4 separate regions of the Homo sapiens genome follow, and all the other regions are linked to region 3. Evidence: promoter capture Hi-C in human tissues and cell types (Jung and others, 2019). All regions are on one chromosome and are shown on one strand. Each heading gives the region's core, a stretch centred on a gene start or on the middle of the fragment in contact. The rest is flanking DNA. Distances are from core to core; before and after follow the strand shown.

Region 1 (3,674 bases), core at 1,169-3,668, 520 kb before region 3:
TACTTGGTTGGGTGCTGCATATTTTTGTATTCCTATAAATATTCCTGAGCTTTGTTCTTTGATGCAATTAAGTTACTTGGAAACGGTTGGATCTTTTCAGGTCTTGGTCTAATATTTGTTATGCAGGAATGAGTAGTTTTCAGTTGATGGGTAATTGTTCCTTTAGGGTGCTAGGTAAAATACAGAACACACAGTGGAATTTTAATTTCAGATAAACAACGTTTTAATATAAATATTAATATATCCCCTGCTTTTTTTTTTTTTTTTTTTTTTTGAGACAGGGTCTTGCTCTACTCCCCTCGCTGGAGTGGAGCAAGCTCACGGCTCACTGCTGCCTCTACCTTCCAAGCTCAAGTGATCCTCTAACCTCAGCCTCCTGAGTAACTGGGACCACAGGCATGTACAACCACGCCTGGCTAATTTTCTTAATTATTTGTAGAGATGAGATCTTGCTCTGCTGCCCAGGCTGGTCTCACACTTCCGGGCTCAAGCCATCCTTCCACCTCAGCTTCCCAAAGTGCTGGGGTTAGAGGTGTGAGCCACCATGCCTAGCCCTGCCCATTTTTAAATTGGGTTATTTATATTTTTATTATTGCATTGTAAGAACTTTTTAAAATATATATCTTGGATACAAGTCCCTTATCAGACAGATGATTTGCAGATACTTTCTCCCATTTGGTAGGTTGCCTTTTCACTTTCTTGATGGTGTCCTTTGAAGCATACAAGTTTTCAATTTGGTGAATTTGAATTAATCTATTTTTAAATTTTGTCTCTTGTGCATTTGTCATATCTAATAAGCTATTTTATAGTTTTAGCGCTTACATTCAAATTCATGATCCGTTTTTAGTTGATTGGGTCTAACTTCATTCTTTTGCATGTGGATATCCAGTTGTGTGTGTGTGTGTTGGATGTGTGTGTTGGGGTTTGTGTGTTGGGGTGTGTGTACGTGTATGTGTTGTGTATGTTTGTGTGTTGGTGTGGGGTGTTGTGTGTATTAGTGTATTAGTGTGTGTGTTGGGTATGTGTGTTGTGTGTGTGTTGAGGTGTCTACGTGTTGTGTGTTGGGTATGTGTATTGTGTGTGTTGAGGTATCTACGTGTTGTGTGTTGGTGTGTGTGTGTTTTGTGTGTGTTTCGTGTGTGTTGGGTATGTGTATGTTGTATGTGTTGGGGTGTGTGTTGGGTGTTGCGTATGTACATTATGTATGTATTGGGATGTGTGTTGGGTATATGTGTGTGTTGGGCATGTGTGTATTGGGGCTGTGTATTTGTGTGTTGGGCGTGTGTTGTGTGTATTGGGGGTGTATATGTGTGTGTTGTGTATGTTTGTGTGTGTGTTGGGTGTGTGTATATGTCAGGTGTGTGTGTTGGGTATATGTGTGTGTTGGGGTGTGTGTGTTGGTGTTGTGTGTGTTGGGTGTGTGTTTTGTGTATTGGGTGTGTTGTGTTGGGTGTGTTGAGTGTGTATTGGGGGTGTGCATGTGTGTGTTGCGTGTTGGGTATGTGTATGTGTGTTGGGTGTGTGTGTGTGTTGGGGTGTGTGTGTTGGGGGTGTGTGTTGGGTGTGTGTGTGTTGGGTGTGTGTGTGTTGGGGGTGTGTGTTGGGTGTGTGTGTTGGGTGTGCACGTTGTGTGGTGGGGTGTGTGTGTTGGGGGTGTGTGTTGGGTGTGTGTGTGTTGGGTGTGTTTGTGTGTGTGTTGGGGGTGTGTTTGGGGTGTGTGTGTTGGGTGTGTGTTCGGGGTGTGTGTTGGGTGTGTTTGTTGGGGGTGTGTGTGTGTTGGGGGTGTGTTTGTGTTGGGTGTGTGTGTATGTTGTGTATGTGTTGGGATGTGTGTTGGGTATATGTGTTGGGCGTGTGTGTGTGTTGGGTGTGTGTTGTGTGTATTGGGTGTGTTGTGTTGGGTGTGTTGAGTGTGTATTGGGGGTGTGCATGTGTGTTGCGTGTTGGGTATGTGTATGTGTGTGTTGGAGTTGTGTGTGTGTTGGGTATGTGTTGTGTGTGTGTTCAGTGTGTGTGTTGGGTATGTGTGTGTGTTGGGGTGTGTGTGTTGGGTGTGTGTTGGGGTGTGTGTGTTGGGTGTGTGTTGGGGGTGTGTGTTGGGTGTGTGTGTGTTGTGTGCGTGTGTTGGGGGTGTGCGTGTGTTGGGGGTGTGTGTGCTGGGGGTGTGTGTGTTGGGTGTGTGTGTGTGTTGGGTGTGTTTGTGTGTGTGTTGTGGGGGTGTGAGCACAGAGCTTATCTGCCCTCCCTGGGCATGCTGCCCTCCAGCAGCTTGCACATGTTCAGGTATCTGCAAGATCCCAGCACCATTTGTTGAAAAAATTACTCTTCCCCTTTGTTCACTGGCTGGAACAGAGCTAAAACAAAACAATTAAAATAAAGTAATTATTTCCCAACTGAATTGTCTTGGCATACTTTTAAAAAATCAATTGATCATAAGTCTATTTCTGGTAATGAATTTGATTTCATTAATCTACGTATCTTTTTTTGTTTGTTGTTTGAGATGGAGTCTCACTCTGTCACCCAGGCTGGAGTGCAGTGGCACAGTCTCAGCTCACTGCAACCTCCACCTCCCAGGTTCAAAAGATTCTCCCGCTTCAGCTTCCGGAGTAGCTGGGACTACAGGCGCCCGCCACCAGGCCCAGTTAATTTTTTTTTTTTTTCCCGAGACGTAGTCTAGCTCTGTCACCCAGTTTGGAGTGCAATGACACAATCTCAGCTCACTGCAACCTCCGCCTCCTGGGTTCAAGTGATTCTTGTGCCTCAGCCTCCTGAGTAGCTCACATCACAGACGTGTGCCACCATACCCAGCTAATTTTTTGTATTTTTAGTAGAGATGGGGTTTCACTATGTTGGTCAGGCTGGTTTCAAACTCCTGACCTCAAATGATCCGCCCGCCTCGGCCTCCCAGTGTTGGAATTACAGGCATGAGCCACCTTGCCCTGCTGTACTCACTCTTAATTATTATATGGTACATATGTAAACGTCCCGTAGACTTGGAGTTTTAAAACATTCTTTACCCACCGAAGTGTCCTATGCTTTCTTCTCACACCAAAAAAACCTTAGCTTTTGTGGCCAGGCAGCAGTTCATATTGTTGTCTTTGCTCTCGGTGGCTTGAAACTAAAAGTGATTCTGACATTTTCTGAACTAAGACTGAAGTGCAGTTTCCCTTTCTCTTCTCCTACTTCTAGATGCCATTTTTCTATCTTCTTCCTTACTTCTACTTCTACATGGTTAAAGTGGAAAACCTTCACGTTCTATAGAGAATAATTATAAATGTTAAAAATCAACATATGGGAATTACATTATTAAGCCTAAGACATTACTGCTGAGCCTGTGACAGCTATAATTCCCTCATCTTTGTGTTTTCCAAAGATGGCCTCAACATTACCTCCCTCCTCTATGTTTGTCTCACAATGTGAGTTACATGCTTTCCCCCCTTAAATCTGGGTGAGCCATGACGATGGTGGAAGTGGTGCTAACCAGCTGCCAGGTCATTACGAAGCCATGCACTGTGCCAGGTCATTACGAAGCCATGCACTGGCACCTTTTCCTTCCAGAATGCTAGCCTTTGGAATCTCCTGCTGCAGACTCATTTGTGTCTCTTCTACTCCAAAGTTCATATGCTGAAGCCCTAACCGTCAATGTATTTGGAGATAAAGCTTACAAGGAGTTA
Region 2 (3,177 bases), core at 182-2,681, 720 kb before region 3:
CTTAGGGCCGGGCACAGCAGCTCACGCCTGTAATCCCAGCACATCGGGAGGCCAAAAACAGGCAGATCCACCTGAGGCCAGGAGTTCGAGACCAGCCTGCATAACACGGTGAAACCCTGTCTATACTAAAAATACAAAATTAGCCAGTCATGGTGGCACGTGCCTGTAATTCCAGCTACTTGGGAGGCTGAGGCAGAGAATCGCTTGAACTTGGGAGGCGGAGCTTGCAGTGAGCCAAGATTGTACCAGTGCACTCCAGCCTGGGTGACCAAGCAAGACCGTCTCAAAAAAAAAAAAAAAAAGACAGAAAGAGAAAAGAAGGAAGGAAGGAAGGAAGGGAGGGAGGGAGGAAGGGAGGGAGGGAGGGAAGGAGGAAGGAAGTGAGGGAGGGAGGGAGGAAGGGAGGAAAGAAGAAAGGAAGGAAGGAAAGAAAGAAGGAAAGGGAAGGTGAGAGGCTGAGCTGGGCGGATCACTTGAGGCCAGGAGTTTGAAACCAGCCTGGCCAACAGGCTGAAACCCCGACTCTACTAAAAATACAAAACTTAGCCGGGTGTGGTGACGCTCACCTGTAATCCCAGCTACTTGGAAGGCTGAGGCGGGAGAATGGCTTGAACCCGGGAGGCAGAGGCTGCGGTGAGCGGAGATTGCGCCACCGCACTCCAGCCTGGGCCACAGAGCCTGAACCTGTCTCATAAATAAATAAAGTAATAGAAACAAATCAAACTGAAGTACAGAAAGAAAAAAGCTTGCAGAAAGTAAGCAGAGCCTCGGTGAGCTGTGAGAAAATCTAAGCTAAGGAACGCACAGGGAGCTGGACAGCAGGAAGAGGAGAAAGGAGAGCACAAAAATACTGGAAGAACTGTCTGAAAATTTTCCAAATTCGATGCAAAGTATAAACCAACAGTTCAAAGATGCTCAACAAGTTCCACGCAAAATATACACAAAAAAATCACACCAATACACATCATAACCAAACTGTTAAGAGCCAGTGACAATGAGAAATCTTAAAAGCAAAAAAAAAAAAAGAAACCACCAAAAATAATTATTATCAGTAATTTATCATCAGAATCAATGAAAGACAGAAGAAAATGAGAGAACATCTTTAGCGATAAAAGAAAAAAGGTCAACCTAAAATTCTATACGCAGTGAAATAAAAGCATTTTCAGAGAAACAAAAACAGAGAATTCATCACCATCAGCATACATGTACTGCAAAAAATGTTAAAGTTCTTCAGTAGAGGAGAAATGACAAGACAGAAATTTGCATCCACATAAAGAAATATACGTAAGCAGAATATGTATGGAAAAAAAATTTTTAAAGAAAGAAAATAAATATTAAGAAATAATAGTTGGGCCAGGCGCGGTGGCTCATGCCTGTCATCCTGCCACTTTGGGAGGCTGAGGCGAGAGGGTCACTGGAGGCCAGGAGTTCGAGACCAGCCTGGCCAACATGGCAAAACCCCATCTCTACTAAAAATACAAAAATTAACCAGGTGAGTAGGTGGGTGTAATCTCAGCTACTCAGGAGGCTGAGGCACAAGAATCACTTGAACCTGGGAGGCAGAGGTTGCCGTGAGCTGAGATCGCACCACTGCACTCCAGCCTGGGACACAGAGCAAGACTCTGTCTCAAAAAAAAAAAAAAATGAAGGTTACCAGAAATGGCAACTATATGAGGTAACTATATATGGGGTGACTTTTGTGGTGAGAACACTTAAAATCTACACATTTTTTTGAGACTATATTGTTATTAACTGTAGTCACCATGTTGTAAAACGGATCTTTTGAACTTATTCCTCCTATCTAAATGAAATTCTGTATCCAACGTCTCCCCTGACCACCCCAGCGCCTGACCACCATTCTACTCTCTACTTCTGTGAGTTCAACATCTTTACATTCCACATATATTTTAAGGCGTGTTTCACGTCATCAGTGGTTTGCATCTAAGGTAATAACGTGCTGGGAAGCTCAGATCACAGGCAAAGTGAAGGACAACAGCACAAAGGCAGGAAATGGAAGAACACTTGTGTGGAGCCACACGTTAAACATCAAATAGTGTAATATCTGAAGCTCACTGTGATAACTTAAGGAAACTGAGTGCACACACTAGAACAATCCTTAAAATACAGGGGCCGGGGCAGTGGCTCACGCCTGTAATCCTAGCACTTTGGGAGGCCGAGGTGGGTGGATCACTTGGGGTCAGGGGTTCGAGACCAGCCTGGCCAAAATGGTGAAAACCTGTCTCTACTAAAAATACAAAAACATTAGCCGGGTGTGGTGGCGCACACCTATAATCCCAGCTACTGCGGAGGCTGAGGCATGAGAATCGCTTGAACCTGGGAAGCAGAGGTTGTAGTGAGCCAAGATCATGCCATTGCAAATTGTACTCCAGCCTGGGCAACAGTGCAAGACTCCGTCTCAAAAAAAAAAAAAAAAAAAAAAGCATGGCTAATAAGACAAGAGTGGGGAAAAAAACGGAATACTAAAAAATACCTGATTAGTCCAAAAGAAGACAGCAAAGGAGCAGAAGGAACAAACAGAAAACTAATAGCAAGATGGTGAACCTAAATCCCACCATATCATTAATTATGTTAAATATGAACAGACCAAATATTGCAATGAAGGCCGGGTGCGGTGGCTCATGCCTGTAATCCCAGCACTTTACAGGGAGGGGAGGCCAAGGTGGGCAGATCATTTGAGGTCAGGAGTTCGAGACCAGCCTGCCCAGCATGGTGAAATCCTGTCTCTGTTAAAAATACAAAAATTAGCTGGCTTTCAAAGGATTTCAATTATGTAATGTTCTTTGACCACAACAGAAGTCAACTAAAAAATTAAAATTAGAAAGGTATCTGAAAAATCCCAAATTATTTGGAAATTGAGACACATACTTCTACATAAGTTATAGGGCAAAGAAGTAGCATGAAAAAAAAAATTCTAGGTCAGGTGCGGTGGCTCACGCCTGTAATCCCAGTATGTTGGGAGGCCAAGGCAGGCAGATCACCTGAGGTCAGGAGTTCAAGACCAGCCTGGCCAACATGGTGAAACCCTGTCTCTACTAAAAATACAAAAAAAAATTAGCCAGGCATGGTGATACGTGCCTGTAATCCCAGCTACCCAGGAGGCTGAGGCAAGAGAATTGCTTGAACCTGGGAGGTGGAGGTTGCAGTGAGCCAAGATCA
Region 3 (3,309 bases), core at 396-2,895:
AGTTGTGGGGTGGGAGGCGCACTAGAGGGCATGTGGTGGAGGAGGCCCTGTGGATGGAGGTGGGGAGGGATGATGACAACCATGCAGAGGATGTGGATGGTGACGACGGGAAGCTGGGGACCATGGGGAAGGTGGTGGTGGAGGCAGTGCTGCTGGTGGTGGGGTTGAAGGAGGTGGTGTTGACGGAGGAGTTGGCAGTACAGGTGGTGTTACTCCGGGCAGCACAGATGGCAGAGGCGATGTGGCTGGCAGTGGGTTGAGGCTGGAGGTGGGCGAGGGTATGAGAGGGCTGATGGTGGAGGTGGCCGTGGTGACGGAGCTGGAGGGGACTCTACTTGAGGCTGGCCCAGCAGTTTTCTAGATATGATCTGGGGTGTTTCAGGGAACCACCAGGTACCAGTGCACCGTGGCCTACTCAGGGCGAGTGCTCCATGCAGTTACCAGGTGCATTTCATTCCCTGGGCTGCCATAAGGGCTTGGCCTGGGGTCACACTCTGGGAGCCATGGAGACAGAACCGGCACTCGGGCCTGTTCCTTCAGCTGAGCTGAGCCTGCTGTCATGAGTCCCTGGCCCCAGGAGTCCCACTGGGAGTCCTGTTTGGAGAGTCTGAGCCTGAGCGGCCAGCCCCCAGACTGCGGAGAGGACGGCAGGGAGGGGCAAGCCTGTTGCTAGCCCGCCTAGGAGGGTCAGCGAAGAAGCAGGCCCTGCCCTGAGCGCCTGGGCAAGGGGTCCAGCCTCCTGGCTCTGGGCCGCACTGGCGTCCACGGGGGGCGGGGCTGAAATGGCCCAAGGAGGGGCTGCAACCTTCGCAGGCCCGGCGCCCCACTTGGGAAACTGAGGCCCGGGAAGCCCGTGCCCACGGCCACATTGCCATGTGTGAAAACCAGGGCAGTACCAGGACCCCTGCTCTCCCCTGGGAATCAGGCGCCGGGAAGACGCGCTCGGCAGGTCTGGCAGGGGCCGGGGCGCCGCGCTCCACTCGCCCCCGCCTCGGTGCCCGGCGGCTGCCGCCCCCGCCCCGCCCGCGCGCCTCTCCCGCGGGCCGCTGTCCGGCCTTGGCCGCCGAGGAGGAAGCGCTGTCCTCATTCCACCTCGGGCCGCCCCGGTGCCAAGTGGCTGGCGGCGGCGGCGGGAGTCCGGGCCCGGCGGGCAGCGGCCGGGGCGCAGCTCCCTCCCCTCCCGGGCGCCCCGCGAGCCCGGGGGTTACTCACGTAGAGTCCGGAGTGCTCGGCACCGAAGAACGGGAAGGGCACCGAGAGCGGCCGCAGCCCCGAGCCGCCGTCGTCCTGCTTGGGGGTGACGGCGTCGCCGCGCTCGGCGCCGAACGGGTAGAAGTCGGCAAGGGCCACCGCGCCGCGCACCCCGCGCGCCCCAAGCCCCAGGGCCGCGGCCACCAGCAGCGCCCAGGCGACGCCGTGCCGCATCGCGGAGGTGTGCGGGCGGGACGGGGCGCTGGCGGAGCAGGGCGCTGGGGGACTAGGCTGCGCGCGGGGGTGGCCGGCAGGGCCAGGCGGGGTGCGGGGAGCGCGGGCGCGCCCGCTGGCCGCGCCGTCGGGGGCTCCGCGTCCCGCGCCCGTTCGGCCGGGCCGCGCTCTCGCCGCAGCTCCGCAGAGGAAAGCGCCGGGCGGGACCGCGTTCGGGGCCAGCCCCGCCCCTGGGGCCACGATTTAAATATCCAGCCCGGCGGTCACTCGGGGGGGCGGGGCCATGCAAATCGGGCGTCTCTTAAAGCGCCAGGCCCCGTGGGAGGGCGCGGGCGCGCGGGGAGCTCAGTCCCCTGGCGTGGGCACAGGCAAGGTGAGGGCTCTGCGGGCGCGCGCCCTGTGGTGGGGCCATGCTCCGCCCTGGGTCCCTACCCTGGTGGAGGCGCCTGGGCCCTCAGTGCCGTCCTGGGACAGACCTGTGTCCCTAAGGCCTGAGACGCTGGGCCCGCCCTGAAGGCGTGTCATCACGCGGGGGGCGGGAGGGGACCCTGGCCAGGCAGTGCCTGAATGAACCCGTTCCGTGCTGCCCCCTTCCCAGCCCTGAGCATGGGGACGCCAGGCTTCCAGCCACAGGGGCAGACTAACCCCGGAGCCCACTCCCTGCCTGGGTCTGTGTGAGGAAGAGCCCGGGCCGGAGACTAGGAGGCATGGAACAAAGTGTTTGCATCTGCGTGGCCGCATCAGGAGAAATTCCTGGGAGGCTCGGGACCTCGGGGCGACCCCTGGGTAAAGCAAACCCTCCGTGGGGAAGACTGACCCACTCAGGCCCTGGGGGCAAGTGCGTGCATGACACCGGCCTTGGCAGGTGGGGGCAGGACTCTGAGTCCCAGTATTTGAATTCAGGGTCCCCACCCTGTGGCCTGCCAGCCCTGCCCCCTGTCTCTTGGGCTGCTGGCCTGGGCTGCCTGTCTGTCCTTCCTCAGGGCCTCAGCCGGGACCACCTCTATGTCCCCAGGCCCATGGCAGGGTCTGATTCCTGGAACTCACCCGGCCCACCGTGGTCTCTTCTCTTAGATCCTGGTGTTGGGTGGTGTTGGCTGCGTGCCACACTGGGGCCCCCAAAGATAAGAGTGCACCCCTCGAAGACAAGCAGGAAAGGCCGGGCTGATGGTAACTGCATCTACCACTGAGGTGCTGGGTGGTTTTTTGTTTGTCTTTGCGTTTGTATCTTCTGAAATATCTCAAGTGAGCACGTGTTGTTTTTCAGTGAGAGCCAGGCACAGTCAATGTTATTTTTAAGAAGCAGCGGAGGGTTCTCTGCGTGTGACTGGGTGTTGCCGGTTCTCACAGATCCTGCACTTGGTGTTTTCACTCAGAGGTTCATGACCCTTTAGACTTGGTGTCAGGGCCGGGTGCAGAATTGTTAAGGAGGAGCTGACCCTGCACTGGCACCTCCTGAAAGCTTGCCCCTGGCGCCTCTCCCACCCTGCATGGGGTGGCAATTCTGTTTGCAGAGAGGCAAACTGGGCCTGGGAGGGGAAGGGCTCTGTCCCGCAGTTAGCCCTTAGGTCACCGTCCCAGCTTTCAGAGCTCCAGGACAGCAGCACAGCCATGGTTCCAGGGCCAGAAAGGTCAAGGCCTCCTGTCTTTGGAGGGAGGCACCAGAGAGGGCGTGGAACTGTAGAATCCCTACTTGAGGCCGGCTCTCGGTGAGAGCCTGGCAAGGAGAGACATGTCTCCACGCACATGCACACACGTCCACGCACACATGCATACTTATTCACATGCACGGAGGCAGCATATGCCCATACGTGGGGCCTCAAGAACATGCTTTAACCCCTTCCTCAGCCCAGCCCTGGCCTCCCTGGTCAGGGAGGGCTGCTC
Region 4 (3,181 bases), core at 341-2,840, 680 kb before region 3:
GGGCTCAAGCAATCCTCCTGCCTCTGCCTCCTTGAAAGCTGGGATTACAGGCGTGAGCCACCGTGCCAGGCCTGTGATTCATTTTGAATTTATGTTCGTGGAGGGTATACGGTCTGGTCTAGATTTATTCTCTTTCATGAGGATGTCCAGTTGTTCCAGCAGCGTTTATTGAGGAAAATGCCTTTGCACCATTGCATCCCTCTGCTGCTTTGTCAGAGGCCAGTTGACTCCTTATGTGGGTGCCCCTGTGATTTGAAGGCCCCAGTGAGACTGGCTGAGTCGAATGAATCGGACTTTTCTTTCTCTGTCTTGAGCAGTGCTTCTCACTAGTGTCAGGCCCCGTGTCTTTGTACATCTGTGATCTTGGCAGCTGTAGGGATGATGGTGGACTTGTGGTATTTGGCTGAGAACATCCTTGCAGTCCAGGCTAGGGGTCATGAGCATGGATGAGTCACCTGCTGGCTGTGCCCACGCTTCCCCCGCCACCATCCTCTGCTCTCTTCTTTGCCTGTGCTTTCTTCTTCCTCGACAGGGTAGAGCTGGCCTCTCTGACCAAGACAGCTGACAGTGCATCTCCTTTCCCCTGCCGTGTTTCTGGAACATTGAACTTTACCAGTTGTGTTTGTTACTATTTAGTAAGGTTATCTTCTCCATGTTGGGTTTTGCTGGAGGTGTGGGTATGGCATCTTCTAGAGAAGATCCAGACCTTTTTGGATTAAAAGTAAGGTTACAAATCACTGTGCTGTACTTGTTGTCATATGAGATTTCTGAGTTGTATTGTTGGGATAATTTTCTTTTTCTTTTTTTGAGATGGAGTCTCGCTGTGTCACCCAGGCTGGAATGCAGTGGTGTGATCTCGGCTCACTGCAACCTCCACCTCCTGGGTTCAAGCAATTCTCCTGCCTCAGCCTCCCGAGTAGCTGGGATTACAGGTGCCTGCCACCATGTCCAGCTAATATTTTGTATTAGTAGAGACAGGGTTTCACCATGTTAGCCAGGATGGTCTCGATCTCCTGACCTTGTGATCCGCCCGCCTCAGCCTCCCAAAGCGCTGGGATTATAGGGGTGAGCCACTGCGCACAGCCTGTTGGGATAATTTAAGCTTGACAGTTCAAGGCCTATGAAACAGGACCAGGGCTCAGGAGCATCCTCTTTTTCAGGCCGTTAATTAAGGAAAAGTTGAGCCAGGGCGTGACCCTCGTCGTGGACAGATACGCATTTTCTGGTGTGGCCTTCACCGGTGCCAAGGAGGTGAGTGCCACTTGGCCTCCTGTCAGGCGAGCACAGATGTGTGGACCCAGGACTGCCCTTGAATGCGAGTACGAGTGACATGCCTCAGATTACTCTGCAGAGTTTCGTGATTCTTATATTCCTTTTATCTCTTTGCTAGATTAATTTGGTTTTATCAATAAGAAGAGCAAACATTTATGTAGCTAGAGATTGTTTCACAGATAGAACCATAGTTGGTATTTGGATTATATTTTCCACACGCTTTTTTTTTTTTTTTTGGGGAGACAGTCTCTCATTCTGTCACCCAGGCTGGAGTGCAGTGGCACGATCTCAGCTCATTGCAACCTCTGCCTCCTGAGTTCAAGCGATTATCCTGCCTCAGTCTCCCGAGTATCTGGGATTATAGGCATGCACCACCGTGCCCAGCTAATTTTCATACTTTTAGTAGAGACGGGGTTTTACCATGTTGGCCAGGCTGGTCTCAAACTCCTGACCTCAAGTGATCCACTCATCTCAGCCTCCCAAAGTGCTAGGATTACAGGCATGAGCCACTGCACCCAGCCTCCAGATGCATTTTCAAAGATGGTTCATTTGTAGTACTTTTTTCCCCCGTTTTTTGAAAGAGGGCGTCTCCCTCTGTTGCCCAGGCTGGAGTACAGTGGAACAAGCAAAGCTCGCTATAACAACTCTTGGGCCCAAGTGATCCTCCCGCTTCAGCCTCCCAAAGTGCTGGGATTACAGGCGCGAGCCACCGTGCCCGGCCACGCCCTCACTTTTTAATTCTGCCATTTCTTCATGTGTTAGCTTGAGTCCTTCCCCTCTGAAGTATTACGTTGTATAATAAGGAGGACAAGACTCATGATTCCTTTGCTTCTTCCTGCTGTGCGGATCAGCTGACAGAGCCGCAGGCTCTGTGGGAGGTTCTCGTGGACGCCTTCCCTCAGCTCATTGTGCTGTTGTGTGATGTGTGGCCTGCAGTCACAGCCTTTCTGGTCCTACCTTTCCTCCGGAAACAGGACAGCATTTGGAGGGAGATGGGATGAGTAAGGGAGGGAGAGAGGGTGCTGGCACAGCCCTGGCAAGAAGGGCCAGTGGATGAGACTAGGCTGGCACATAACAGGCTCTAGGAGTGCCTGTCTTCTTCCTGCTCTTCCACGGGAGAGGAGACCCTGGCGTGTGTGTGGCAGAAAAGACACTGCCAAGGACCTCGTGCCTGTGTCCGGACCCAGCTGCTCTGTGCTGCAGGCGTTCTAGGCCGGGGGTCTCCAGGGGTTCTGTACATAGACTGTTTGCTCCTGGCCAGCAGGCCTGTAGCTGTGCTGGGAGGGCCTCCATGGGGCCTGGGCTGTGGGTGGCGGGGACTGGCAGCCGTTCTATCTACCTACTTTTCTGTCCACTTGTCTGTTTACAAAGGAAAAACAAAGGTGACACTGGAGAAACCGACACGTTTGAGGTTCTAAAAATTAAACGAGCCACAATATAAACAGTCTCACATCTTGGTACCTCACCAAATGTCCCCTCATTTTTTCCTGTTTTTACGACTTTCGAAACAAAAACCTAGACTACACTAAGCTTTAACTGTTGGGTTCTTTCTTGGCAGAATTTTTCCCTAGATTGGTGTAAACAGCCAGACGTGGGCCTTCCCAAACCCGACCTGGTCCTGTTCCTCCAGTTACAGCTGGCGGATGCTGCCAAGCGGGGAGCGTTTGGCCATGAGCGCTATGAGAACGGGGCTTTCCAGGAGCGGGCGCTCCGGTGTTTCCACCAGCTCATGAAAGACACGACTTTGAACTGGAAGGTGAGAATCCCAGAATTGCACACTAGGAAGCGTGGAGAAGTGGCTCAGGATGACACCGTGGTGGCTGGCACAGTTGTGTCAGCAAAGCTGCTGCCGTTTCCGTCTGGTCCTCCCAGATGTGGAGCCCCGGGAGTAGTCGTTCAGGGGTTCTCG

What was found. Contacts are between HindIII fragments. The study calls those that stand out against the background at their distance.
Region 1: a fragment that was not itself captured here is called in contact with the fragment with the promoter of SNED1 in region 3 in 1 of the 25 tissues and cell types used here (H1 embryonic stem cells).
Region 2: a contact is called between a fragment that was not itself captured here and the fragment with the promoter of SNED1 in region 3, in 1 of the 25 tissues and cell types used here (lymphoblastoid cells).
Region 4: a contact is called between a fragment that was not itself captured here and the fragment with the promoter of SNED1 in region 3, in 1 of the 25 tissues and cell types used here (dorsolateral prefrontal cortex).

The regions. Positions count from the first base shown.
Region 1 is chr2:241,514,960-241,518,633 of GRCh38, reverse strand. No RefSeq gene overlaps it. Among named protein-coding and RNA genes, the nearest start is that of STK25, 8.2 kb to the right of the region's middle. The HindIII fragment of the contact is 7,266 bases long and covers 1-3,674 here.
Region 2 is chr2:241,715,545-241,718,721 of GRCh38, reverse strand. All of the region lies in intron 5 of ING5 (inhibitor of growth family member 5), which reads right to left. Among named protein-coding and RNA genes, the nearest start is that of ING5, 15 kb to the right of the region's middle. The HindIII fragment of the contact is 9,714 bases long and covers 1-3,177 here.
Region 3 is chr2:240,996,954-241,000,262 of GRCh38, reverse strand. It overlaps SNED1 (sushi, nidogen and EGF like domains 1), which reads right to left and starts at 1,645. Exons shown (of 32, transcript NM_001080437.3): 1 at 1,213-1,645. The coding sequence starts at 1,425. RefSeq lists a silencer at 1,594-2,013. The HindIII fragment of the contact is 20,006 bases long and covers 1-3,309 here.
Region 4 is chr2:241,678,299-241,681,479 of GRCh38, reverse strand. DTYMK (deoxythymidylate kinase) reads left to right here. Exons shown (of 5, transcript NM_012145.4): 3 at 1,161-1,251; 4 at 2,831-3,028. Among named protein-coding and RNA genes, the nearest start is that of DTYMK, 6.9 kb to the left of the region's middle. The HindIII fragment of the contact is 3,955 bases long and covers 1-3,181 here.